Linked DNA regions of Homo sapiens: all the other regions are linked to region 1. The links are contacts of gene promoters, found by promoter capture Hi-C in human tissues and cell types (Jung and others, 2019). All regions are on one chromosome and are shown on one strand. Each heading gives the region's core, a stretch centred on a gene start or on the middle of the fragment in contact. The rest is flanking DNA. Distances are from core to core; before and after follow the strand shown.

Region 1 (7,495 bases), core at 2,695-5,194:
CAAAGTTAGGTCAAAGCTCATTTCCAGTCCAATTGTTGAGGTTCACTCTTTTCTATCTCACTTCCTGAAGATACTTCTAGCTAGTGAACATTTACTGGGCAACAAGGGAATTCAGGCCAACAAGAACCTGGAAGCCTGAGACACCAGACAAAATGTTACAGCACAGGGATCATTGCAGGAAAACGTTTCCCATTTCAGTTTTAAAGTTTCTGCTGCTTTGAAGTCCAAAATATCCAATAAATAATTGCAATTTATAATTGAAGTAAAATGCAGAAGACTACTACAAAAATTTTTAAATTGACATTTATTAAATTCAAACAGTATTTGAGGACTATCTAGTTTATATACATGTTGAGGTTGATAAAGTATTGAGGACTATCTAGTTTATATACACGTTGAGGTTGATAAAGTTCAAATTCTGTTTTAGGAAGTTAACAATGAATTGAGTTCATTTTAACTGAATGTTACTATAAAAGATGGTTTTCTTGCTGCAATGTAAATCTGCTATTAAGAAATTAGCAAAGTGGCTGGTGGTGTTTGTGCCTTTAAGATCATCGTTCAAAAGAATTCAGCAAACTCGATAACAAAGGTAAGACAAACATAACCTTTATTCTCTCTCAAAAACCCAGAGAACAGGGCCTGGAACCATATTCGTTAATTTAACCAGAATCAGAATACTTTAACTTTCATAGTCTCATTTAAAATTTTATAGCAATATACTGACCATTCTAAAAATAACAAAATACATGTTGCTCTCAACTACATAGTTAAAAAAGGTAGTAAATTCTCTTACCCAAAATAGAGGAGGGGTGGGCTAGTGAGCTGCTCAAACATTTGTAACAAATAAAAATGTATCTATATACATATAATGATCATGTTTTCATAGCCTAAAATCACCATACAAAATCTAATAATAAAATTGTGTCGTGTTCAGGAGTTGGGAAGCCAACACATTAAATTAACAAAGTATTTTTGGTATATGTAAATAATGGGATAGAATCTCTCGAATCAGGATTGTCCCAGAAGTTCTAAGGCAGATGTCAATGACATGCACATTGTCCATGTTCAGTAATTTTCAAAGACTAGAATAAACTATGTAAACTATTCAATACAATTCAATATTACTTAACTGCTAAAAAGTACTTCAAGATCTTGCACTGCCTTGAGTGAGTATAATCAAGTTAGTAATTGGAAAATAGCTGTAATAGCAGGCACTGAAGAATTCTGACAAATACCAAATAACTGTTTGTTTTTACCAAATAAACTGGTAAGATGATATCACAAAGGGTTTTAAGTTATTTTGCTATACAAGGTTTTTAAAAATAAACTATTGCTTCTTAGAATAACTTTAAACATACTGATTGATGTTAATCAATAAAATCAATGGAATGATTTTAGTTGAGTGTAAACTTCATCTCAAAGGTTCAAATAATCTTAAGAATCTAGTTTACATATAAGACTATATATGCTTTAACATTGATTCAAATATGATTACTAGAAATCAATAGATTTCATTTGAAAAGATAAAAAAAATTTTTTTTCCAGGTCCAAGGGAAAAGGTATGAATGAAGCCCTTTCTAATCACACACACACACACACACACACACACACACACACACAATGACAAAGAACACTGAGCTAGGAGACATAGATGTGACTTTAGGGAACTTACTTTCCCTCGAAGATCTCTTCCAGCTATCTGATTCTACGTTAAAGCATTTCCTCTGAACTGTACAAACTGGCCTCACATTTTCGAGTTTCTACACAGTACCTGGCAAAGTTTGCCTGTTGGCTTTTACACCAAAATACTAAAATATCAAATGAATCACATAAACCCTGTCCTACAACTCTGTATGCCAACTAGTTTTCCCCAGATAGTAATTTTTTAAAAATTCATTCCACAAATCATCAAGAGCTTCCTACGTTCAAGGCAGAGTGCCAGACCAAACCTGGAACATCATGGTTGTCACTGCCCCTGGGAACAAATTACTATCCGAAAAAGTGAATTCAGTTGACTGCTTCAGGCCCAACCTGGTTCAGGGTCGTGATTCCCAAATTTGAGGGAATATGGGACTCTCCAGTGGAGTTTGTTAAAACACAGCTTCGAGGATCTCATCCCAGCCTTACTGTGTCTGAATCTCTGTTTGGTGTCTCCTAATCTACCTGCATATTTAACAAGCATGTTCTCCCTCACGCCTCCACGTCTCTGCAGGTAATTTGTGGGCCTCACTCTCCATTCCAGCCCACTCTCCCCGACCAAAGAAAAGAAAACCACTGTACTGTAGTGGCGAAAGCCCTGGACTCAAGATTCAGGAGTCACTTGCAGCTGCCTGATCTTTGTTACTTCACATTGCTAGGTCTCTCAATCTCTTCCTCTAATAGGGGTTTAATAGGAGTCTCCATAGGGATCCCTTCCACTCTCAGACTTGAAGAACCTCACATGGCAACTCAGTGTCGTGAAGGAGGTGGGAAGAGTTTGCAAGGATGTTTCACTCTGCAGTCAACATCCCTCCCCGCGGCAAGACAGTCTAGCAGCCCCCCAAGAGCAAGGGGGGTAATTCCCTTATCTGGTCCCCTCATTCACAAAGGGAGGAAAAGCTAGGCGAGGTTGGAATTGGGTGACGGGCGAGGAGGAGATGCCAAAAGCACCTTGCAAGAGTTTTGGCAAGAAGCAGGAGGGATCCCTGGAAAGCCGGAATCACTCCTCGTCGTCGTCGTCCTGGTCCTGGTAGCGAATGTAGACGACCAGCATGACAAAGCCGGTGAGGATGCAGAGGGAGCCGACGACCAGGTAGGCGATGCCCAGGAAGGGGTTCTTGCCACCCATCCACGAGATGCTGCTGAAGATGAGGAGCTTGTGGCCGCCGAACGCGCGCACCGGGTAGTTGTAGGTGATGTTGACGCGGTAGGCGCCCCGCGGCAGCCCGGCCGAGTAGTTGCCCTGGCGGATGCGCGCGTACAGTTTGCGGAACGTGGGCAGCGCCGCCGTGCGCATCCACACCACGAAGTCCTGATTGATGAAGCCGGTGTTGTTGGGGTCGGGGCTGAGCTCGTAGACTGGCCGGCGCCAGTTGGGCGGGGGCGCCGTGCCCTGGAAGGCCAACGCCAGGCTGCCGTTGACCAGCGGCGGGTTGCGGAACTTGACGTGGTAGTCGGTCCACCAGGCGATGCCGGAGCGGTCGAGCGGCACCTCGACGTAGGGCCCGCCGGGCTGGCGCTGGTGCCAAAGCGAGAAGGAGTCGTTGAAGAGGCTGTTGGCGATGGCGCCGCAGGGCGCGATGGGCAGGCCGGCCGCGCTGCGCTGGTAGGGGGCGCACTCGTTGACAGGGTGGCGCAGCGCGCTGGGGAGTCCGCTCAGCTGCGCGTCGTCGCGGGACACGCCGTAGCGCCGGTTGTTCTGGTAGAAGTTGGTCAGCTCGTAGTAGAGGTACACTGGGCCCTGGAAGAGCTCGGGCAGCGAGAAGTACCAGGCGCACGAGCAGGGGGGCGGCAGCGCCCGGCCCTGGCCAGCCGCGGCGCACACCGAGCAGTTACCGGTGCCCGGGTCGCCTGTATAGTCGTACTCCAGCTCCTTGATGCCGTTGGAGGAGTAGTAGAGGCCCAGGCCCAGGCCGATGAAGGCCAGGCCCGCGCAGAAGAAGAGCGGCAGCGCGATGCTGGCCGACAGCAGCGGCTGCCAGGCGGGGAGGCGCTGCTGAGTGAAGGCGGTGTTGTCGGGCTGGTGGGCGCCCCGGGCCGTGGCGCTCCAGGTCATGGCGGCCGCGCGGGGACCGACGCGCGGGCTGACCGAGTGGGGGCCCCGCCGCGGGGCGCCTCCCTCTCCGCGCCGCGCAAGCCCGGGGACTGCTCGCGGGTCGGGTTTCCCGCCAGCTCAGGTGGGTTTTTGCCCGGGCCCCTCCTCTGCCTCCGTCACAGGTGAGTTTAGTTCCAGGCCCTACGAGCAGTGCCCACACCCTCCCAGTTCCGCCTCCGCCCAGGTGCGCTGCACCCCCGCGGGTCACCGGGAGCCGCACCTCGCCCGCCCCTTCCGAGGTGAGCAGGTGGGTGTTTTTTACCTCACCTGGTAGACTCAGTCTCGCGTTTCCTCTCAGTCCAGGTCATCGGACTCCACCTCCTCTCCTAGGTGAGTGGCGGCCCCGGGCTGCCTCTGAGTGGCTCCTACCTGGCTCAGGTACCACCTTCTCTTCCGCCTTCCAAGTGACTAGAGTTCCTGGGCCAGTCTCCCGAAATCAAAAGGCGCTCCGGCCTCCAGCAGAAATTTTTGCTGAGGGCTTGCACCGTGGTCCTGGAGGCTTGAAGATTTCAGATCCTTAATCCTCTGTTATTTGCGGGGAAAAGGTGGCTCTAGACCATTTTGTCTTTTAGGTTAGCTTCACAAACCGCTTTCGCCCAGCTTTCAGTCTCAAGTTGGGAGTGTCCAGGGAATTACGTTATGATAAATCTGTTTCGAATTCAACGCCTGCGTTCAAATTTTAGCTTTTTTTTTTTTTTTTTTTTTTTTTTTTTTTAAGGGAAAATGATTTTCTGGCCAGATCACCCAGTCTGGCTGTATAACTAGGAAATGTGGAAAGTTCTCTAAAAATAAAATCATCCTTAAAAAGAATCAAAGGCTGGAGAGGTTCAGAGCCTTTAAATAACTCTTAGCTGGTGTGGAGAAACCAAGAAAGGAAAAAATGTGCTGGACTACATGTGATTTCGTTTTCTTTTCAGATTATTTGCCTGACTAGAGAAAGGCCCAATCCAAGGTCCCAGGAGACCTAGCTGCTATCCACAAAAACATCTGGAGTGTCTGGCCTAAGGAAGTAAACTACAAGGATTTATAGGATTTATTATAAAAAGAACTCAAATTAGCTCCCTATGTTGCCTGGGATTCTGGCTTTTTTTTTTTTTTTTTTAAATCTAGGTTGGTAAAACATATACAAGGGGGTATTGGGACGTTCTGATTTCTTACTAAATCTAAATCTTCCCTAGGTATTGTGTTCTTGCTTCTCCTCCAGCTTGTAAAATGCAAGTAATACAAATGTTTTCTCTATTACACTACACCTAGCATAATATATTATATTCAGGAGTCATTCAAAACCCATTGAACTTGGAAAGTTAAAATCCTTATTAAATTTAACAGAGGAATGTTGTTAGCATCTTCCAAGTGTTCAGTCCTATGCTAATTAGACAAAAAAGGACCTTTGACCTCAAGGCATTTGCAGTTTGATAGGGGACATATTAGGAGTAAGAAACAATCAAAATAGCCAATAATAGCTATGAATCATAGGGTGTAATCAAGTATCAAATTGCATTCTACAAGTCACATTAAAATTAAAAAGTAATATTGATTTAATAATGGAACATTGATTCCAGTTTGTTAAATGAATGCAAGTTGGAAACCAGGTATTATAGAAGACTGAGGGAAATTCAAGTGACTTGAATTTCAATTCCCTCACTTCTTATCATACCCAAAGAGAGGAAGTTCCAAAATTCTCAGCAAGTTCCCACAGTGTGATCCAGTCTCCAGTCACCCTTTTTTTCAATAAAAGAATAAATAGTTCTTTGTATCATTATGGTTGAGTTCCACCCACCCGTTTCATTGAATCACTAGTCCACAAAACTCGTCTCTAGGAAGGAATTCAGTTTTCACAACTTTTGTAGATTTTTTTTTTTTTGAGAGAGAGGTGTCTCCCTCAGTTGTCCAGGCTTGTCTCAAACTCTTGAGCCCAAGAGATCCTTCTGCCTCAGCCTCCCAAATTGTTGGGATTATAGGTGTGAGCCATCACACCAAGCCTATCTGGTAAATCTTAAGTCTTTTTTCTAGTAGATCACCACCACACCCCTAAAAGGGCAAGCCCCATTCTTGAGCTCAGAGCCTTTCCTCCTTTTCTCCTATTCCTGGATGGCCTAAAGGTACTAGTTTATTCATTCCACTAATTAAGGTGACAGATTTTCAAAGTCAAAAGAGAATATTTCAAGACAAGGAATGGTCAGCAGAGTTAAACACAGCTGAGGGTTCAAGTGAGATAAATGAAAAGGAATTATGGGGTTTGACTTTTGTGGGAACACTTTGGGTGGTTTGTGTGGCAGGAATGAGGTTACCATCAGGTGCAGGGAAAGGGAAGCAGATAGCAAGATAGGAAGACACTCTTTTTTTATTTTTATTTTTATTTTTTGGAGATGAGGTCTTGCTGGGCATGGTGGCTCATGCCTATAATTCAAGCACTTCGGGAGGCCAAGGCAGGAGGATCACTTGAGCCCAGCAGTTTGAGACTAGCCTGGGCAATATAACGAGATCTTGTTTCTACAAAAAATAAAAACAAATTATCTGGGTGTGGTGGCATGTGCCTGAGGTCCCAGCTACTCAAGAGGCTGAGGTGGGAGGATAGCTTTAACCAGGGAGTTATGATTGCGCCACTGTACTCCAGCCTGGACAACAGAACAAGACCCTGTCTCAAAAAATAAAAATAAAATAAAAAAAGAGAGAATGGGGTTCTAAAGGGGAAAGCCTGTTTTTAGAAATGTGTGGAAAGGGAAGGAGAAAGGCAAGTGATAACTGTCTAGAAGAGCATGTATCCTAAAGGAAAGGCTTCTTTTTTAGATGTCAGAGAAGTGTGTATCCTGAGGGAAAAAGATAATAGTGCAGATGAGGTTGAAAAGAGGGGTGGCAAGCTTACTGATAGTGCAAAGGCAGGAGCAGGCTGGAGACGCTGATCCACCAGCCAGAGCCACTGGTTTCAGAGAACAGGTGCAGAGTTATCTCACCTCTGAAACAAGAGGGCAGGGTGATAAAAATGCCCTCTGCAGAATGCAGCTGGGTATTGGGCTCCCGCACCTCAGGCTGGGAGAAAGAAATGACTGAGTGTGACCAGCATATGGTGGTTTTCAGGGCAGATGAATTTGAAAGATAAAAAATTCAAGGTATTGCAGTCCTTGTGGAGGGGTGGCTAAAGAGATGTGCCTTAGTAGTTAATCTGAAAGGCGAAGAAAATGAAACCAACCCTGTGGATCAAAAGAAAAAGAAGATACTGGTAGATTGGCAGTCCTAATAATGTTAATTGGCAGGTGCCGTGAAAGCTGGGAGGAAAAAGTGCTGGTATGAGATGGGGTGTTAAAGATCTTGGAGGTGAAGCTGTACCAAGGTCCATGTATACACTATATTTCCCCTACCAGCTCGTAAGTTCCGAGAGGTGGAAGACTGATATAGATATACATTGTCGTGTTCCTCAGAGTTCACTATGTAAGGAAGGTTCAGATCTCATTTCTCTCATTTTATTACATATGTTGTGATGTATTAAAGGATGCTTGGATCATGTAAACTCTTTAGTACCAGTAAAATAAGAAACAAGTTCACTCTAAAATTGTTTTTTGTATCAGTGTTATTAAGAACTCAAAGGAAAAGAAAAAAGGCATTTCTAGTCCAAATACTGCTAAAATCACTTCATTTTTTCATTTTATCTCCCAGACTTTATCCATGTAAATATTTAATTTTTAATAGATTGTAATTAAGATA
Region 2 (7,747 bases), core at 3,383-5,882, 570 kb before region 1:
TGGAGGGTTGGGATAATCATATCTGAAACTGTTAACCATCAACACCAGAGAGATCACTTAAGGCACTTGAGGAGGTAGGCCAATGCCTGAGGAAATGACACATCCCTTAGGGGGCAAAGTGGATACAGATGAAGGAGGTGGACAAGTACAGAACCAGACCTGCCTCACCTAGCTGTACACCTCTAAATAATCCTGGTGGGTCACAGGTTGTTGACCCCATCCCAATTATTTTATCTTCCATTTGCAGCTCTTAGCAGGTCACCATGTGCTTCCCCTCTGTAATTGATTTGAACTTAACTCTGTAGGGGTAAATGAATTTTATTAAACCATTTTTTTCTTTTATAATAATATCTAACATACCCATTTCGCAGAAAAAATACAGGGCCCAGAGAGGTGAACTGATATTTCCTAAATCTCAAGGCTAATTAGAATCCAGGTTTCTTGATGCCTACCTCTACATTTCATTTACTATTCTTCATAGACTCTTTAGAGATCTGCTTAGTTCAAATGCAAATAATGTGGATATAGCCACAGAGAAAATATTTTTAGAAAGTTTATCTATACATAAGTATAAATAGGTTTTCTGCACATCACTGGTATTTTGAAACATTGATCTAAAAAAGGGTCAAAAAAAAAAAAAAAAAGCTCAGTGAGTACATTTTTGTTAATGCCCCATTTGCCTGTCAATCTTTAGCCTCTATCATCTGGAACACAGTTTTAAACTTGCATGTTAAGCAGAAAAACCTTGGAATAGTAATGAAATAATTACCATAAAGACCATTCACTAATGTTAAAAGATTTGAGGAACCACTCTCAGGGTCTACCCCAAAATGTATTGATTTATTTTTGTGCTCTACATAGGGATAATATTTTAACCAGTTTAGCAATATAGTTCCCTAATCCATAGCAATGAAATGATTTAAAGTTATGGATGCCTGTTACCATCACTATTCATTCAACAAATAAATTTTAAGTGCCTCCTATGTCCCATGCATAATACTAAATGCTGGAGAAACCAAGATGAATATGTAAAGAGGCAAACATATACTTACAGTGATAAGTACATTAGTGCCACACTAAAGGAAGGTATAAATCCCTGTCTAATCACAGAATGGGCTATGCACAATTCTACTTGTGAAAGTAAGACAAGGCTTCCTGAAGATGTGACATTGAGTGAGTCTTGGGGATTGGGTCGTTATGAAGGAATCTGGTTCCTTTGGCGAACAGTTTTATGTGGCTAGAGATGTGAGTAGGCAGAGAGGCAGGGCCTGGATCTTGGAGACTTCTTATGGTAAAGGGTTTAAACGGTATTTCATAGGCAATGAAGAGCCATGGAAGGTTTTAAAGTGGAAAACGAGGCTGGGTTAAGTCTTGAATTCTGGAAGTTCCATTTGGATGTAGTTGTAATGTGGCCAAAATCAGGACCAGACACTAGGATACCAGGTAGGAAGCAGTTGCAATAATTCAGTAGAGAAATGGTAAGTGCCTAAACTGTAGGAGTAACCTTAGTAATGGAGAAGAAGAAACTGAATCAAAAGACTGTAAAAGAGCAGACTTGGATAGACTTGTGATCTGATAAAGGTAGGGAGAAGAAAGGGAGACAAGACTCCAGAGTGAATCCCAGATTTTTGTCTGGCCATCTGGGTGAATACATGTTGCTGAAATGAACAACACAGAGTTGGGGCAGGCTTAGGGAGATGAGAGTTTAATTTTCCACATGTAGAATCTTAGGTGGACTGGGACATTTTGAAAATATCTATTAGGGAGCTGGATCTACCAGGGGACAGGTTCAGGCTGTGACAATCATCTTCAGTAGCAGTAAGTGGCTTTGGCTAACAGCAGGCAGCAGAATAGACACAAGTCTTGGAGAGCACAAAATTCTGGAGACAGTTGGAGGGCAAACTGCCCTAGGTGCAGTTCAAGAGCTCCTGAAGTATCTCCTGTCTGACAGCTCAGGGCAACATGGTAATAGTTTCCTAGTTCCGGCTCTCCTGCCTCCTGCAACTCCATTTCCCAGATTAGCCATGGCAACATTTTAAAGTGTAAATCATGTTATATTACTCCTTGCTTACAAGCCATGAGTGGCTTCTCAGACTCAAATTCAAACTATTTGAGACCAATAAAGCTCTACCTTTGATCTGCCCTTGCCTACCTCTCTGGCTAGATTTATCGCATGACCCCTGGAGTTAGCGCCGTAATCCAGACACTCTGTCCCTCCCTCAGGGCCTTTGTACCTGCTGTTCCCTATGTCTGGAATGCTCTTTTCTAGGTCTTGCTGGCTGGCTTCCTCCTTATTCAATTACCTCTGCTGAAATGTTACTTCCTTAGAGAACTTCCTTGATCAATCTAATGTATGTCTCCCACCCTAACATTTCATATTATCAATTTCATTACTCCTTGTTGTCAACTTTATAACACTGACCGTTATCTGAATGTGTCTTGTTTATTTATTTACTATCTACTGTATTGGAAATGGTGATATGCAAAGGTAAATTTTCATTTATTGCTTTTTTTTTTTTTGATACAGGAATTTGCTGTCACCCAGGTTGCAGTACAGTTGCACCACCCTAGCTCACTGGAGCTTCCTGGGCTCAAGTGATCCTTCCGCCTCCTTCTGCCTCTTCCTCCCAAAGTGCTGAGATTACAGGCCTAAGTCACTGTGCTTGGCCCATTTATTGTTTCTTAAGGGCAAGTGAACAAGTGGGGTGGAACCATATAGCTGAAGGCCTTGAATTCCCATTGAGGGTTTTTATTTAATTTGCTAGTTTCTGAGGAGCCACAAATGTTTTACGTACAGCAATGATCTTGTCCAATTTTTAAAAATATTTGTTTAATGTTCTAAAATGTAACCACTTCATTGGCTGGAGTGGTTGAACTCATTGAAACTCTGTTCATGTTAACTGGTTTACTTACATATAAAATTGTTAAATAAATGAGTGGAATATCAAGAATATAAAAGTCTAGATATAATATCTGAATTTAATTTGATGGCTTTAACTAGTTTTACAGAATTGTACAGTTGGTTTCCAATCTATTTTATTAACCTCCCCTTCTTTTCAGTGTAGAAGCATAGAAAACCAGGTTATGTAATTTTAAAATTAGGACCAAACTGTACGAAGGCCAAATTTTCTATATAGTTAGCAGCAACGCAGTTCTACTTGTTACTTTCAGTGAAACTATTGGTGCACCCAACCGTGGTGGTACCAGACTTTGGCTAATGGCAGTGCCCTAGGGATGGGTGATATTGAACTCTTTCAATAAGGTTGAAAATAGGAGGTCTTTGGACCCTTCAATTTAATTCCATTAAACCCTACAGAGTAACTGCCGTGTGCCAAACATCACACTCATCTCTAGGGACAAAAAAACAAAAAACAAAAAACAAAAAATGCTGGGAAGGGGAAGGTACACTTCTTCCTTTTAAGGAGGATGCAATCTAATAATTTACCTCTATGTAGTACAGTTAATTGCATAATTCTGCACAACGACTGACAAAGATTATTTTTCCAAAATCACTCCAATTGGCCTTATAACCATTTGCCAGCTTTTGGAATGTTTGTTTTTTCCCTTCCTCTTCTTCCCTTTTCCAGAGATAAATAAAACCAACATTATTTCTTTTTTCTTTTCTAGTAAGATGAGTCATTCATATTTAAAAAAACACAATATTTCCCAAATAATTTTCAATGCAAGGTATGTATAAATATAAAGTTTATTTAGCATAGTGTTTAGAAAAATAAGTTCACATCATTTCAGAAAACAAATAAAACACTTAATTGTCCAGGCATAAACCCCCATTACAGTACGACATACATACTTCAGATCTCTTTGGTTGGGTAATTAAGCACAGAAATGTTCTGGGACATGCTCTGTGTGCCATCACCTAACAGTGCAGTAAAGACTCTGTTACCCCACCCCATGATATACATTCTGTATAGAGTTTCTCTTTGTGTAAGGCACAGTAAAACCATATTGAGTATATAATTGGTTGCCTCTAAACATACAGTACATGCAACAAAATAATATTTTTGAGAACTCTGAAAGCCAAAAGAGTCACATGCTATACAATTTTGATTAATAAAATGTATGGTGGTAAATTAACATAAAATGTATCAATTAGATACAAAGTAACTGCTAGGCTCTATTATCTAAGTTTTACAAAGAGTTTAAAATATCTTTTGTGAAATGTAACTATTTCCCCATAGTTTTCCTGAATTATTTTTATTATGAGATGATCTGTCAAAACATTTTAAAGAATGAAGAACTTGTGGCTATGTACTAAAGCACACTTGTCTAGCATGTAGCAGGGCAGGCTGCCACACATGCCCAATAATCCAACTTTTAACATGCAAGATACAAGGGCATACACAGAGAGATTTAAGGTCAGTGTGCAATTTAACTATGGATTTTTACCTATGGCTATAATATCTACCTGCCTTTCATAACACAAGAAAGGCACTGAAACGTGTACAATTTAAAAAGTCTTTTCATTACTATAAATATACATGAGATATAAAGCAGTACAACACAGGTGCTCTTGCTTGATTGAGGAACAAATGCACCTTCTCTTTAAACAATAGACTGTCCTTTACTAGATTTAACTAAGAGCTAAATGCCAAATTCTGGCTGATAGAGTGCATAGATAGGCTTACACCAAAAATCCCACAGCCAGCAGCATGGGTTGGGTTTTGCAGGGAGTCATTTACCCCTGTTTTGATCTTCAGGGATCATTAGAGGGTCATTTGCAGCATTTTCAAGCATTGGTTTATGTAAGAGGGAAATTCTGCCACATGACTCCAAGGGTTCTGAGTCTGGCCCTTGGTATGGCAAAAGACATTTGCAATTCTGTGCAAGGAGATCATGGGGTTTATCTTACTCCATTCACATATACATGGGCTGCATACCAACTGGCCCTTATTCAACTGAAAGAATAGAAAAGAACAATAAGTTCTTTATACTGTGCATTGATTCTTACCTGGTATATTGTGTAGCTACCTGAAGTAATTGTAGGGTTATAATTACATCATGGTGGGAATATGAATGGGTTTCCTAGGTAAGTCTTAAGTTTTGTGCTATCTTTTCTTTTTCATAAGGGAGAAAAGAGGAAGAACACTGAATAAAAGAGAGGCTTATTGTATTTTCGGAAAACATATAAAACATTTCCAGTTATATATATATATATAGCATATATAACTAAAAACCTCCCCATCTCTCTTGTTGGATGGGTATTTGAAAATAACAAACTCTTGATATCTGCAGCAATCAAGTGGAAAACATCATTTTTATGTAAACTACACTGCAGAGCCATGTAATTAATCTCAGTAACAGGATCAGCACACACCCAAAGAAAAAACAAGCTCTATGAGTAGTAGTAGAGTGGAAAAGAACTCTCAAACACCTGACTTTGTAAAACAAAACAAAAAACATGTAGCTTCAGCAGTTTAGGAACATTCACCAATTCTATCAAAAATGATGTAGTTCTTTATCAAAATGATGGGAGAGGAATTCTTCATAGGGTTCTTGATATATGCCTGCAAGTTCCATTTATGATAACAAAAGTTAAATCCTCTATGTCCCTTATTCAACATGCTTGATTGATTGACATGTAGAGAACTAGAGTGGGCCCTTTGTTCTGATCATAAAAAAAAAAGCAAGATGTGGCCAGGCACAGTGGCTCATGCCTATAATCCCAGCACTTTGGGAGGCCGAGGCGGGCAGATCACGAGGTCAGGAGATCAAGACCATCCTGGCTAACACGGTGAAACCCCGTCTCTACTAAAAATACAAAAATTTAGCCGGGCATGGTGGCAGGTGCCTGTAGTCCCAGCTACTCGGGAGGCTGAGGCAGGAGAATGGCGTGAACCCAGGAGGCAGAGCTTGCAGTGAGCCAAGATCGTGCCACTGCACTCCAGCCTGGGCAACAGAGCGAGACTCCATCTCAAAAAAAAAAAAAAAGCAAGATGTGCTAACATCTAACACCTTTATGTTCAACAACTTGAAGTTATCTCTGAAGAAATTATTTTCTCACTTTTTTTGCTTTTCAGAGACTAGAGAGCAACTTTACTCACTACATAAATTTATTTGCATTGTTACATCTTGTGTTCAGAGTCTTGATAAAACTATAGCCACGGCTTACAACATTATTAAACAAGCTTCTTACAGAAACCAAAAATATTTACTTTTAAAGAAGACATGATAATATAGTGCAAACAACAGTCATGTGTCAGAGTGTAACAACTGATTCAAAACCTTTAGAACTAAGTTTCAACAGGACAGAATTTTGCTCAATAGAATTTACATATTTTCTTTCCTTTAAAATGGTTTTCATAGCCTGTATAATCAATTTGACATGGTATTTATAACTTATTTTCCTTGTAATGAAAAGTATCAACAATAATTAGTTGTTTATCCATTTGTGTGATAAATGTCATATATATTATTTAGTGAAACTTAAGTTCTTCAGATTTAAAGCAATTTTGTGGTGAAATTAACCCTGTTAGATAGTAGAAAAGAACCATCAGTGCTTCTGTTGACACTTCTGTACCTTACTACCAATAAAAAGGCCACGAGGTAAAAAGGCACATAGAATTCTATAAAAAACATATTTAAATGAATCAGAGTTGCTAAATAAAGAACAAGGATGTGAAAAAAAGTACCAAAATTCCAATATTGGGAGTTAGATTTCCTGTTTCAGTGTTATTAATATTGACCTTAATAGATTCCTGGTAAAAATCATTATTTTTAAAATCCTACAAAAAGTAAAACTTTGTTGGAAACGACTATGTTCACTTCCTGTTCAAACAATAAAAATAAATTAAACAGTAAGAAAACATATTTTTCAGTTCATAGCGCCTGAAGAGAAACATATACATTAAAAATAAAATTCACTGTAATTACTCAAATCCTGCTTATAGAACTGATATATTTACATTTATACTGAAGTTTCAGAGTTTTTAGTGGAGTTCCGCACTTTCTCAGCCACACTGAGCTATTAGAAATCACATTTGGAAATGTGTTGAGACAAATGTGTTTGAGACCCAAGACTTTCTCAAAAAATGCTGAAAAAGAGGTGTGTGTGCATATATATATGCATGCTACTTAACTTTAAAAATATGTACCATTTATGTTTCTTAACCTTTTCAATGCCCATGGAGTAAAAGTAAACAAAAACAATTGTATTATTTCTAATGGTCTGCAGCTATCTTTAATTTTCTATGTTAGGTGTATACATTTTTTAATTTAAAAAACTATCAAGTTCCATTTTGACCTTAGAATTATAGAGTCAACTAAATGATTCACTTTGACTTGATACATTTCACCTTGTCCTTTGTCTCCATCTATTTAAAAGAGAAATTTATAAGTGAACAAAAAGGCTGCAATAATGCAGTTCTACTCCTGTATACTTAACTGTGATCTTCATGCAGATCAATCTAAAGTCTCTTGTATGCATATACTTGCAAAACTAGAGTGTTTTCCTTTAAATGGGAAAATGTTTTGTGTCCTTGGGGCTTCATGAAAAGATTTGCCGCTGATGCCAAAAAGAGGTGAGGAGGAAATAAAGTTCATAAGTCTTGCATATCTTCATCCAGCTGGACAGTCTGGAGCTTGGCAAGCTCTTTTTTGTCTGTTTCCAGGTCTTCACAGACAGTATCAACCATGCCATCTAAGACATACTTGGATTTAGAGTCCAGCATCATTAAGCTACTTGTTGCTTTGCTCTCAGAATTTGATAAGAAATTCTCTTTCATGTTAG
Region 3 (7,185 bases), core at 220-2,719, 520 kb before region 1:
TTGGAACTACAATGACCAGGAAGCAGTGTTAGTCTAAGCATAATTTAATAAATCCATATTAATCCACCTGGCGGAGTATAACATTTTAACATACCTTTTAGATCCACAGTGATGGAAAAATGATTAAATTACTTATTGTCAAAACAAAGGGCTGCTTTAGATATGGTTATTTAATAAACTGTTTTGCTTCATGTAAACTAGTTTTGCTTAAGCTTCAGAGATATAGTCACATGGATTTATCTTTCCATGACAATTGCTTACTGTCTGGGTTTATGTTTAATGCAGGTATTGGTGACAGTTTGTAATTCTTGAGTCATTGCCTAGCATGGAAAATAGTTGATTTTGCTAGCTATACACAGTACTGTCTTTTAATGATCACTTTTTAATGCGGTTAAGCCTGACTTAATTGTTCTCTTTTTAGAGTGTTATGTAATATTTGTTAGTGGTATGATATATCTGTTAAACTACTTATATATGTAAAGTGAAAAGTTTATGTGTACATGTTATTTTCTGCAATAATGTTGAAGCTCAAAAATAAAAGGGGTTATATACTTATGTACTTAAAATACATAATCCTGGTGTAGCCCTCTTTTTCTGGAAGATCAATGCCATTTTTCTTCAGTACATTCTTTCTTTTCTCTTGTTTATGATTTTGTGTCTGCTATACCAGTGACTGTTTTTGTCTATCAGATAGTGAAGCTAATTGTCTTAAAGCTTATCACAAACAGCCAGAAGTTAATGGGCTATTTGGGTTGGAACCCATACTTTTGGTCCCTTGTTTTACCTTAAGTATGAAGAAGACATTAAAGCATTAGAGTTGAATTGAAGAAAGTAGGGAAGATTTGAGACAGATTTAGATGGTAAATTGAGAGGATTTGGTGATTCTGTGGCTGTGAGGGTAAGAAGAAGCGGTCTAAGATAATTCTCACATTCTGGATTTTGATGCCCAAGTGAAGAATGTAATTTTCAAGATTCAGTGAAATCTCTTCTGGAACAAGGCAAGGAATGTGTATACGTAAATAAATAGGCAAATAAATAAATTAGCAAATGGTAGTAGCTGAAATGGTAGGTCTTTGGAGTCTGGCCTGATTATAAAAGGAAGTGTAAGTAGGAGTAAGCTGTAATTAGGAGAAAAAGGAAATATAAAGGATTGGAGATCTGGATGAGATCAAAGGGGCAGTGTGTATAATGAGGGACTGAGAGCTCCCAGTTCAGAAGGTTGTGACCAGAGTTTGGAATATAGGCCAGGCGCGGTTGCTCATGCTTGTAATCCCAGCACTTTGGGAGGCTGAGGCGGGTGGATCACCTGAGGTCAGGAGTTCGAGACCAGCCCGGCCAACATGGTGAAACCCCCGTTTCTACTAAAAATACAAAAATTAGCTGGGCTTGCGGCGCATGCCTGTAATTCCAGCTACTTGGGAGGCTGAGACATGAGAATCACTTGAACCTGGGAGGCGGAGGTTGCAGTGAGCCAAGATCGTGCCACTGCACTCCAGCTTGGGCAAGTGAGCCAAGATCGTGCCACTGCACTCCAGCTTGGGCAACAGAGACTCCATCTCAAACAAACGTCTCACTCATAAGTGGGAGTTGAATAATGAGAACACATGGACACAGGGAGGGAAACATCACACACTGGGGCCTGTCGGTGGGTTGGGGGCTAGTTGAGGGATAGCATTAGGAGAAATACCTGATGTAGATGACAGGTTGATGGGTGCAGCAAACCACCATGGCATGTGTATACTTATGTAACAAACCTGCACGTTCTGCACATGTATCCCAGAACTTAAAGTATAATTTAAAAAATTAAAAACAAAGTTTGGAATATAACTAAACAGTCTGATGCTATGTCTAGTGCTGGAGAAGCTAGTGACAAGAAAGCTGTATAACACACACAAAACATGTTTGGAAAATTAAAAAACAATAGAGCTTTCATAAGATTAAAATAATCATTGGAAAACAGAGGCCTACCCAGACTAGATTATTGATGATGGCTTCTATTTATGGTTAGACTGAATATAAAAATCTTATACCTCTAGGCAATCTAAGACATACAGTACTGTGTTAAAAATTTTGAGCTTTTATTTGTCATATGGTTGTGACTCTAGCAGAGGTTGGATATATTCTTTATTAAAGTGTAGAATCCTCAAAATCTGCCTCTATAAATTTAAAACCTATAATCTTAGAAATATATAAAATCTTGACTTATAAAATTAAATGTATAACTTAAAAATGATTAATTCTTTTAAAATGAAAATTTTAACTTTCTAATTTCTCTTTTAAGTGATTTTTAAGAAGATGATTTAGATAATGTAAAAGGATTGCATCTGTTAAATAACAAACTCCACTGGGTGCAGTGGCTTACACCTGTAATCTCAGCACTTTGGAGGCCTAGGCGGGTAGATCACAAGGTCAGGAGTTTGAGACCGGCTTGGCCAAGGTGGTGAAACCCTGTCTCTACTAAAAATACAAAAATTAGCCAGGCTTGGTGGTGGGCGCCCATAATCCCAGCTACTTGGGAGGCGTAGACAGAGAATTGCTTGAACCCGGGAGGCGGAGGTTATAATGAGTTGAGATAAAGCCACTGCACTCCAGCCTGGGTGACAGAGCGAGACTCTGTCAAAAAAAAAAAAAGAAAAAAAAGAAATACAAATTACTCCCCCTTACTCCTTTTTTGGGTATTCGTCTTGTTTTAAAAATCTTTTTGTGGCCTGGCGTGGTGGCTCAGGCCTGTAATCCCAGCACTTTGGGAGGCCAAGGCCGGTGGATCATGACGTCAGGAGATCGAGACCATCCTGGCCAACATGGTGAAACTCCATTTCTATTAAAAATACAAAAATTAGCTGGGTGTGGTGGCGCATGCCTGTAATCCCAGCTACTCGGGAGGCTGAGGCACGAGAATTGCTTGAACCCGGGAGGCAGAGGTTGCAGTGAGCTGATCGCGCCACTGCACTCCAGCCTGGCGACAGAGCAAGACTCCGTCTCAAAAAAAACAAAAATCTTTTTGAGAAACTTTTAGATATGGGACAATTAATGAATATCTAATACTATTCATTGTATGACTAGATTTCATTTTGGGGAGGCTTATTAATATAATTTAATTATTTTGAACAACAAGATGAATTGGGTAGGTGTTTGTTAGAACTTCAAATACATTATAGTTGAAAACTTGAAACAGTAATACAAATGCAAGAATAAATATTCTTTTAGAAATAGGAAATGGTTTCAGATAATATGGAGAAAATATAAGGAAACAATTCAATAATAAAAACTATTGTTTGTAAGTAAATCAAGTTTGAGAGTTTCTGCTTTAATAAGTTGTTAAGGTTTGGATTCAGAGATCTGTTTCTCTTATAGTAAACATTTTTAATATAGGAACAGCTCAGGGAAATGGTTTCCATATGCTTCTTGAGGTGTTAACAATACACTTTTGGATTGGAAATGCAATATAAACCTAAACTACATTCTGGAAGGCAAAGTGGAGGAGCATTTCAATGGTAATATGTACAAGAAACCCTTGTGCTTTGTAGATTTGTGACTTATGGTTTTGTGAGTTCCTGGAACATTCAGGTTACTCTGCAAACCTGTAGTCTAACATACCTTGCTTTGTCTGGCCAGCTTACTGCCTTAGTCTGGCTCAGTATTTCTTTTTACTACAGTTTGTCCATCTGGGATCTTTTTTGGATACTCTACACTTGTGGGGAGAATTGAGGCCAGTTTTGGGGCCTATTTTAAGGGACTTAAGATACATAGAGGATGGCTGAAGAAAGTAAATAAAATCCAAGTGGTAATTATATCTGTGAGACCCTTCCGGGTTTTCTAATTGATCTTGGAGGCAAGAACAGTTCAGTTTTTTTTTTAATTTAAATTTAAATTTTATTTATTTATTTATTTTGAGACGGAGACTTGCTCTGTTGCCCAGGCAAGAGTGCAATGGTGTGATCTTGGCTCATCGCAACCTCTGCCTGCTAGGTTCAAGTGATTCTTCTGCCTCAGCCTCCTGAGTAGCTGGGATTACAGGCGCATGCCACCACACTTGGCTATTTTTTTTGTTTGTTTTGAGATGGAGTCTCACTCTGTCGCCAGGCTGGAGAGTAGTGGCACAATCTCAGCTCACTGCAACCTCCGCTCCCTGGTTCAAGTGATTCCCTTGCCTCAGCCTCCCAAGTAGCTGGGACTATAGGCACACGCCACCACACCCAGCTAATTTTTTTTGTGTTTTAGTAGAGACGGGGTTTCACCATGTTGGTCAGATTGGTCTCGATCTCCTGAACTTATGATCTGCCTGCCTCGGCCTCCCAAAGTGCTGGGATTACAGGCGTGAGCCACCATGACTGGCCTTATTTTTTGTATTTTTAGTACAGTCAGTGTTTCGCCACATTGGCCAGGATGGTTTCGAACTCCTGACCTCAGGTGATCCACCTGCTTCGACCTCCCAAAGTGCTGGGTTTATAGGCGTGAGCCACCGCGCCTGGCCCAGTTTAGTTTTTTGAATTATGGCTAACTTCATTCCTGCTTGAGGTTGAGTGTATAATATTATTGTATTACTCATTTATTAAGAGCTCCGGAATGTGTCTGCTCATAAATAGGTGGTTGTCTTCAATAGTATTTGCAATTTTGAAGAGTTACATGTTTAATAACTTTCTCCCTGGTTGACTTTTAAAGGTCTTGGTTGACTTCTTAAAAGTTTTGTTTTGGTTTTAAATGATATGTTCTACAGAAACACAAGGACAAATTACAAAGGTTTTAGGAGTTATATCTCTGAACAGGATTTTTCTAACCTTTCTTTCAGGTAATATCAAAATCTTTCAAATGGAGGTGGAGAAGAGGGAGATGAGAATAACCTGGGAGGGTTTTAAAAATTACTACTACTTATACAGAAATGTTTACTGTGTCCTAGGCATAATGCTGAATGCTCTTTATTCGTTATCTCATTTAATCTTTATAATAACTCTAATTGGTAGGTATTGTAAATATCCACTTTTTATGGATGAGGGAATTGAGGCTTAGAGATTCTAAGTAACTTGCCTAAGGAAACAAACTAGTAAATGGCTCAGCCTAGATTCAGCTAGGCCTCATTGATGACAAACCTTTGCTTCTGAATCACCATGCCATAATACACTTTGTATAAACCCTTTTTGTTTTTCTCCTTTATATCAGAATGTGGATGATGGCAACGCTATGTGCATTTTCAAAAAGTTACCCTACTCCTAAGATTATAATGTTGAGTTTACATTTTTAAGTTATTTTTTTGCATACAAAAAGTGTATATATAATATGTATAGTTTAATGAATAATGAAAACAAATCAAATGCTTGTGCACTAACCCCCTGGGTTGAGAAATAGGGTATTACTGGTAAGTTTGAACCCTCTATCTTTTTTCTATTATATTTTCTCCTCCTCCCATAGAAATGACTACTTCTTTGAATTTTGTCATTCTTTTTCTTTTCTTCATAGATTGGCCAGATATTGTTGGATCTCTAAACAGTATACTATTTAGTTGTGGATTCTATATAAGTGTATACATTATATATTTGTGTTCTTTTTTAAGATATATTTTAAAAAATTTGAAACAGGATCTTGCTGTTACCCAGGGTAGAGTGCAGTGGGACAACATAACTCACTGCAACTTTGTTCTCCTGGGCTCAAGTGATCTTCCTGCCTCAGCCTCCCATGTAGCTGGGACCACAGGCATATGCCATCAGGCCTGGCCAATTTTTTTATTTTATTTTATTTTTTTTCAGATATGGCGGTCTAACTTTGTTGCACAGGCTGATCTTGAACTCCTGGGCTCAAGTGAGCCTTCTGCTTTGACCTCCCTAAGTGTTGCGATTATAGGTGTGAGCCACTGCACCTGGCTAAGAATTATTTTACTGTGGTAAAAAACACACAACATGAAATTTACCATTTTAACTGCTTTAAAAATTAAAAAAAAAATTTGTTTTTTTTAGAGACAGGGCCTTACTCCGTTGCCCGACTGGAGTGCAGTGGCACCATCAAGGCTCACTGCAACCTTGAATTCCTGGGGTCAAATGATCCTCCCGTCTCAGCCTTCTGAGTAGCTAGGACTGCAGGCACATACATGGCTAGTTTTTAAAATGTGTTTTTAAAATGTTTTTTTTGTAGAGACAGAGTCTTGATATGTTGCCCAGGCTAGTCTTGAACTCCTGAGGTCAAGCAATCCTCCTTCCTTGGCCTCCCAAAGCACTGGGGTTATAGGAGTGAGGCACCATTCCTGGCCACCATCTTTACCTTTATTTTTAAGTGTATAGTTCAGTAGTAAGTATATTTACATTGTTGTGCAATGAATCTCTAGAACTTTTTCATCTTGTAAAACTGAAATTCTATACCCATTAAACTAATTTTCCCTTCTTTTCTGCCCTTTGCCTTTGACAATCACTTTTTAACTTTCTGTTTCTGTGATTTTGACTGGATACTTCATACAAGTGGAATTATGTAGTATTTGTCTTTTTGTGACTGCCTTATTCACTTTGCATAATATTCTTGAGGTTCATCCATGTTTTAGCATGTGACAGGATTTCCTTTTTTAAAAGGTGCATAATATTTCATTATATATATATAGTATCCTTATCTATTCATCCATCAGTGGATATTTGGGTTGCTTCTGCCTCTTGACTGTTGTGTTAATGCTCCAATGAACATGGGTATGCAAATATCTCTTTGAGATCCTGCTTTGAATTCTTTGGAATATTTACCCAGAGGTGCTGGATCATATGGTAGTTTTATTTTAAAGTTTTTTTTAGGAATCTTTACACTGTTTTCCATAATGATTGCACCATTTTATATTCCCACCAAAATGCACAAGAGTTCTTAATTTATATATTTGTTATTTTCATATATTCTGTTCCTTTCACATATTCTTTTCAAATATTCTGTTCTGCTCAAATATGTTTTGAAATATTAACCCAGCAGTGGGATTGTGGGATCATATGGTAGTTTTATTTTCAATTTTTTTAGGAATCTTCATACTGCTTTCCAAAATGGTTGCGTTATTTTATATTTCTACCAAAAGGCACAAGGGTTCTTAATTTGTATATTTGTTCTTTTCAACTTACTTTGTTCATTCAGCATTGTGTTTATGAGTTATATTTTTGATATTCACAATGTTAATGCACATAGTTGTAATTTGTTCATTTCCACTGTTATATAGTATTCCATTGTAGGACT
Region 4 (6,786 bases), core at 3,030-5,529, 860 kb after region 1:
GACCTTCCATGTGGGCCTTCTCCTTACAAAATTCTCTCTAGTTTCCAGTGCCCATAGATATGGATGACTTACAAGGTGCCAAAGACTTGTAATGGAGTGAGAGATGATGGTGTGGGGTGCAGGCTGCTGCCACAATTGTGAACAAACTGGTCCCTAGGGGTTGGTGACGTGAGTGAATATTGACACTCAGAACAACCACAACTGTTTTGCAGTGCTCAGGAGGGAACAACAGAAGCAGTCTTTGCTCTTCACGATTTTATAATCTGATTTGTGGACATAAAACACCATCAGACAGTGGGATTTTTCTTTTTCGATCCCAGTGTCTAGAACTGTATGACCAGCAATTTAAACGCTCCATTCATTTTTGGTCCAATTCTAATGTCATTTTTTTTTCCATTAAATGTCTTGTACTCTTCCAACTGGATATACTCTTTTTTTCATTTGGGCCCTTATAGCATTTTGTATCTCTCTCTCTCTCTTTTTCATTGTCTGCCTTGTGTTGAATTATTTCATTACATACCTCTCCTCTCCCCTAGACTATATGGCCCTTGGATATGGAGGCCACATATTATCTTGATCTTTCCTGATAATTTGTCTTTAATTCATTCAGCCAGTGCTATGCTGAATGAACAAAAATTAAAATAGCTACCATTTGTTCAGCATTTACTATATGTGAGGTTTTGTAAGTGTTTAATTGACTTCTCACCAACCATAAAAGTTACATTTTATTATTTTCAAATTTATAGTGAAGAAAACTGAGGTACAAAGAATTTAAGAAACTAGTCCAGCGCTGTCCAGCTGGTCGGTGGTAGAGCCAAAATTAGAACTCCTGTAGCCTGACTGCTGAGCCTTCACTGTGAGACAGTGTATTGTTGTGCTTAGGAAAATGGTTTTTGAGTAAGATGGACCCAGCTTCAAGCCTTAATACCACTACCTATACCTGTAGGACTTTGGGAAAGTTCCTGTCTAAGCTTCTTTAACCCTTTTCCTGTTTTCCTTGAGACGACTTGCCGGTGGCTGCAGCGTTTACTCCAAGATAACTTTGCCACAAAATATCTCGCTTTTATTATTATTTTCACATCGCTCTACTATATCAACTTTGGAAACAAGAGACACCATTCTATTGATAGCATTCTGTTTTTAGTAGTGGTATTTTCGTTTACAAAAATGTAATAATTCTCCATCGCTGAAAATGTCAAATCCTAGAAAACGTAGCATTCCTACAACGAGCAGTTGTTGGCCAATGATTCATTTGATGAATTTGATTTTTCTGAAACGGATGATTCTGATGTTAGTTCTGTTTAGAAGTAACCCCAAGAACAGTTTTTATATTTTATTTTCACATTGAAAATCAGTCGGATTGGCTTTAGCCTCAAAGAATGTGTTTATGTAAAATTAAATGAGTGCTGGTAGCGAGCTGCATTTTTTTTTCTAAATGGAAAAAGCATTAAACTTTGGTTTTCTCGTCTCTAAAACAGGGGAAACAATTTCACCTAAGTCTTAGGTTTACTAAGAGAAGCACCAATTATCTCATGTACAGCATTTAATACTATGCCCAAGTTAAGGATCAAACTCAAAAAATTTTAGCTGAGTAAAATAAATAACAATGCAAGATTAAAATGTCAATCCATTAATCTGATTAAGAAAATTTCTGTTACTGACTTAGAAATAATGAGAAACCTTTAGTTTTCCAGTTATTCTAGGTTCCTCATTCATTCAAAAATAGCTTGGTATAAAATGGTTCCAGACAAGTAATTCTGATGCTTCTCATGAGACTTCTCAAAGCTTGAGGTATTTATTCTTTATAAAAGATGCTCTGTTCTAAGCCAATGTGTATGTATTAATTAGATGGTGGAGACTTCAAAATAAGAGGAGGTATTTCTTTTTTTTCCTGCCAAGAACATGCTAAGGAAACCTAACGTATATACACATACACACCACAAATGAACTGAGAGTGACTGACGCGGGGGGCATAAAGGAAAGCATTGCCAGGACATTCTCACTGTTTATTTTCCAGGCCATGTTCCTATTAGCTAAGTGATGCCCACAACACAGGCAATACAGCCTTCCCAAGCACAAACAGTTTTTCCAACAAAGAACTCCAATCACAGAGAGGAGTCTGACTCAATACTTGCCAGACGCCTGAGTAAGGGCTGTTCCCTAAGCTTGGCAGTGTTTTCAAACACACTCAAGGGCCAGATGGCTATTGGTCTGATTCACAGGAATGTGGTATAGTTACCAATAATGTGTCCAATTTTTAATTCCCACGCAGATAGTTCATCTTGAGGGGAGATTAAACATAGCTAGATAAGATGGCAGTGAACCAGAACTTCAAAGCTATGTGTTATTGAGAGGTTGCAGTTTGAACTAGTTGTAGAGAAGTTTCTTCTGTAGCCTTTAGAATTACAGATTTGTAGCATGTGATAGCCAGAGAGAATGTTGGAGGCCATCTCACGTAGCATTCTCCTTTTATAGAGAGAACAGAACCCAAGAGGTTATGTGATTCAAGATGGAAATCTGGGGTAGAAGCCGGAAATCTCAACTCCTCCCCAGTTCTGAACATTTTTCAGTAATTATGATAACATGTTCAGCAGTTGTTTCAGTAGCCTTATAACATAATCATTAACAAATTCTAGAGAATAAAGGAGTTAAGCTTCAATATTATTCTAGTCATGTTTCACAGCCCTGTTATTCTTTGTTGCCATAACTGGTTTTGTCTGTCCCCTCCTCTACTCTGTGACGTCCCCAGGAGAATGAGTGTCTTTTGTTTTTCTCTTTATCCTCATGAACTAAATAAATGTTTCTTGAATGAATAAATGAATAGATATAGACCTGTCTGTGAAATTCCCTTTACAGGGCACTTCACACATAGTAAAACTCAGGTAAACTCATACTTACTTACTAGGATGATAATGAAAGTAAGTCCATGGAACAAAACACACACTTCCTATTCACTGGCAATAAAAGAGAATTTATATTGCGAATGAACAGTTAATAACTAAATGAAACTACCAAGTAGAAGACGTGTTAAATAAATGGAGACGCTAAAATGGAGCACAATGACAAATGCATGTGGTGCTGAAGAAGGTGCTTTCAGGACGATAAAAAGATCCAATTTCTAACCTCTGTAGGCACCATCATGGAGCAACACAACAGCTGTTATTATTTTAGTCTTGCATTGTTATTTACTCAGAGCAAATCTTCAAACAAGTAAATAAAAGAAATATTATGCTAAAATCAAATTAGTAAAAGAGGTAGGGATATTATATGCTAATTTCAAGTATATTGCAAGAGATCATATTAATAGATGGAAGAATTAGTACTGAGACAGACTGCTTTTATCCATAGCCAGGAAAGGCTTCAAAGAAAAGATGGAGTTTTAGGTGAAATCCATTAAACTGAAAACAGCAAACTGATGGATTGCTCAACCTTACATCGAAAGGCAGTGATAAGTAAATATAAAATTTGGGGTTCTTAATTTTGAACCCAGAGCTCAGTTCACTGAGTATTGTACATTGAAGCTACAGTTTAGCACATTAAAAAAGCAATATATTGATAAGGATTCTTCTTACTACATGTGACCGAAACACAACTAGTTTAGGCAAAAGGAGAAAAGCATTAGCCAGAGATAATTCTGGATATTTAGAGAGACACTGTTTGATTAAGAGAACTCCTTTCTCTCCAATGCCTGGCTCTGGCAACTAAAGACTATTGTTTCTACTTATGCTCTTTTAGAAAGTTTGTTTTGAAAGTCAACGTTGGACAATTTCTTTGTTGTTCTTGGCTGTATCTTTCCTTCCTCTGAAGTGCTGGATGCCTCAGCTTCCATGTATGAAACAAGAATTTTAGAAAATGAAAATACATCTGGTAATATTTCAGAAATATTATCTTATTATGTTGATTTGTGGCAGACTTGGGTTTCTGCTGACATTTGCAAGCCCAAATGGAATAGGAACACTCTGCTAGCAGTAATTAATATTACTTATAAGATATGAATATTTTCAGTGACTTCAACATAAATTAATAGTGCATTTAAACTACTAAATCTTTATCCTCTTCCACCTGATTCCAGTGGAGGTTGAATTTATCTGTATTTTCCCTTCAGGCATACGAAGCAATTGCCAACTTTAAGAGTTTTTAGGTAGTGGGCAATTTCAACAATTTCCTAGCAGATTTTTGCAGGTCTACAGTGTAGGGTAGAAACTTCTGGGTTGAAATATACATGTCAATAATCCCTTGACTGACCCCCTACTTTCTACTATGATGTCCACTGTAAAGGCACACACTGTCTCCCTATGAACCACTGTTCCCCTCACTACACACAAACTCAAAATAGCTTTAAACCTAAGCTGCACCTTATCTATTGCCAGTTTCTGGGATAATTTTCTATTTTCTAAGACAAATGGAGCTGAAGTGATGTTGACATCTATTTTGCCACCTGAAACTTAACTAACCCATCATCATCCCTTTCTTATTCCTTTGCTTGCCTTCTGATTGGGGTCTTTATAGTCCTATCTGAGTACTGTCTCCACGTCCCAACCCTTATTTTCTCCTTCCTCATTAGTACCTCTTTTTCAACATTCGTTTGGATACTGAAACTTCCAGAAAACAACAGGACAAGATATCAGCATTTGGGTGGGGAGGTGGCAAACAGTTTTACTTTGTATTACTGGAGATAGAGTACCAATATATAAAAATCCTGTGGGTGGGAGCAAAAAGAAGAACAGCCCGAATACTCCAATGGTTCACCAAATCAGATAGTCAAATAGCAGGAATAGGATTAATGATTTCACTGAAATCCAGCAGAGCCATAATAGCAGAATATCTCTAAACCCTGGAAATCAAGTTAGATGCTAATATATCATTATACCCTCCAATTGTAGTAAGCTGTGTTAGAGCTAAGCCATAACCCCTGTGTGTTGGCAAACATTGGGACTAGATAGATCTTTTCTCTTTCCACGAGGAGTAAACTGAAAAATAATAACAGACTTCAACAACAGCTGGGATGTTGCTCAACATGTAAAATTATGTTGGAATACAAGAGATATTACATAATTGTTAAAATTCAGAGGAATGACAGTCTCTTCAAATGATGAATTCCTGGTGTCAGAAAAAAGTTTAGAAAAAGTTAGTGTCCACAGTAACATATGTGACGATATGGCATCTATAAAATAGGAATGAAAAGCTATAAAAAGCGAAAAAGTTACAGAGAAAAGATGACCAGATGAGCTCAAAAGCCACTATTTCAAGGTGAAGCTGAAGCTGAATGCAATGAAAAAAGATTACACAGCAATTAAAAATACAAAACAGAATTAAAATCAACATCAGAAACAGCAGAAGGTTAATATAAAATCAGTAACAGAGAGTAGCAATATGAAAGCAAATTTAATGACTTCTTCCATAATGCAGAGGCAAAAATTAATTAGAGTTTTAAATATCATGAAAAAGAATATTTACAGAGGCCATGCAGTGGAGAAAAATGTTTAAAGTGTAAAGATTTATGAAGGATAAACAATTGTCACAGAAGAGATACTAAAAGAAATCACTGAAGAAAATACTTCTCAGCATACAGATTAAAGGCTCACTGTGTTTGAGGAAAAGTTGACAAATTACCAAGCCACCACTACAAGGACTTCTAAAAGGAGCTCTAAATCTTGAAACAAATCCTGGAAACACATCAAACAGAACCTCTTTAAAGCAAAAATCACACAGGACCTATAAAACAAAAATACAAGTTAAAAAAAAAACAAAAAAAATCAGTGTACACAGGCAACAAAGAACATGATGAAAGCAATGGTACCTGCAAATAATCTCACTAAGAAACAAAAGGGGAGATATTACAACTGACCCCATTGAAATACAAAAGATCATTCAAGGCTACCATGAACACCTTTATGCACATAAACTAGAATATCTAGAAGAGATGGATAAATTCTTGGAAAAATACAACCTTCCTAGCTTAATTCAGGAAGAATGAGATACCACGAACAGACCAATAACAAGCAGTGAGATTGAAATGGTAATTTAAAAATTACCAACACAAAAAAGTCCAGGACCAGATGGATTCACAGCAGAATTCTACCAGACATTCAAAGAAGAATTGGTACCAATCCTTTTGACACTATTCCACAAGATAGAGAAAGAAGAAACCCTCCCTAATTCATTCTATGAAGCCACCCTAATACCCAAACCAGGAAAGGACACAACCAAAAAATAAAACTACAGACCGATATCCTTGATGAATGTAGATGCTAAAATCCTTAACAAAATACTAGCTAACCAAACCCAACAAGATAATATCAAAAAGATCATCCACCATGATCGAGTGGATTTCATACCAGGAATGCAGGGATGGTTTAACATATGCAAGTCAATAAATGTGATATACCACATAAACAGAATCAAAAGCAAAAATCACATTATCATCTCAATAGATGCAGAAAAAGCATTTGACAAAATCCAGTGTTGCTTGATGATTAAAACTCTCAGCAAAATCGGCATACAAGGGACATATCTTAAGGTAATAAAAACCATCTATTAAAAACCACAGCCAACATAATACTGCATGGAGAAAAGTTGAAAGCATTCCCTCTGAGAGCTGAACGAGACAAGGATGCCCACTCTCACCACTCCTCTTCAACATAGTACTGGAACTCCTAGCCAGAGCAATCAGACAAGAGAAAGAAATAAAGGGCATCCAAATTGGTAAAGAGGAAGTCAAACTATCACTGTTTGCTGACAATATGATTGTTTACCTTGAAAACTCTAAGGACTCCTCTAGAAAGC

What was found. Contacts are between HindIII fragments. The study calls those that stand out against the background at their distance.
Region 2: a contact is called between a fragment that was not itself captured here and the fragment with the promoter of TMEM30B in region 1, in 3 of the 25 tissues and cell types used here (lymphoblastoid cells, mesendoderm cells and thymus).
Region 3: a contact is called between a fragment that was not itself captured here and the fragment with the promoter of TMEM30B in region 1, in 2 of the 25 tissues and cell types used here (lymphoblastoid cells and stomach).
Region 4: a fragment that was not itself captured here is called in contact with the fragment with the promoter of TMEM30B in region 1 in 1 of the 25 tissues and cell types used here (lymphoblastoid cells).

The regions. Positions count from the first base shown.
Region 1 is chr14:61,277,394-61,284,888 of GRCh38, forward strand. It overlaps TMEM30B (transmembrane protein 30B), which reads right to left and starts at 3,945. Exons shown (of 1, transcript NM_001017970.3): 1 at 1-3,945. The coding sequence starts at 3,754. The coding sequence ends at 2,699. It also overlaps a transcript of PRKCH not described here. RefSeq lists an enhancer at 2,407-3,370. The HindIII fragment of the contact is 14,970 bases long and covers 1-7,495 here.
Region 2 is chr14:60,705,851-60,713,597 of GRCh38, forward strand. It overlaps SIX4 (SIX homeobox 4), which reads right to left. Exons shown (of 3, transcript NM_017420.5): 3 at 3,689-7,747. The coding sequence ends at 7,557. Among named protein-coding and RNA genes, the nearest start is that of SIX4, 15 kb to the right of the region's middle. The HindIII fragment of the contact is 6,478 bases long and covers 1,394-7,747 here.
Region 3 is chr14:60,763,727-60,770,911 of GRCh38, forward strand. The region is part of intron 1 of MNAT1 (MNAT1 component of CDK activating kinase); the gene reads left to right. Among named protein-coding and RNA genes, the nearest start is that of MNAT1, 33 kb to the left of the region's middle. The HindIII fragment of the contact is 7,906 bases long and covers 1-5,422 here.
Region 4 is chr14:62,141,266-62,148,051 of GRCh38, forward strand. No RefSeq gene overlaps it. Among named protein-coding and RNA genes, the nearest start is that of LINC00644, 4.7 kb to the left of the region's middle. The HindIII fragment of the contact is 4,608 bases long and covers 1,976-6,583 here.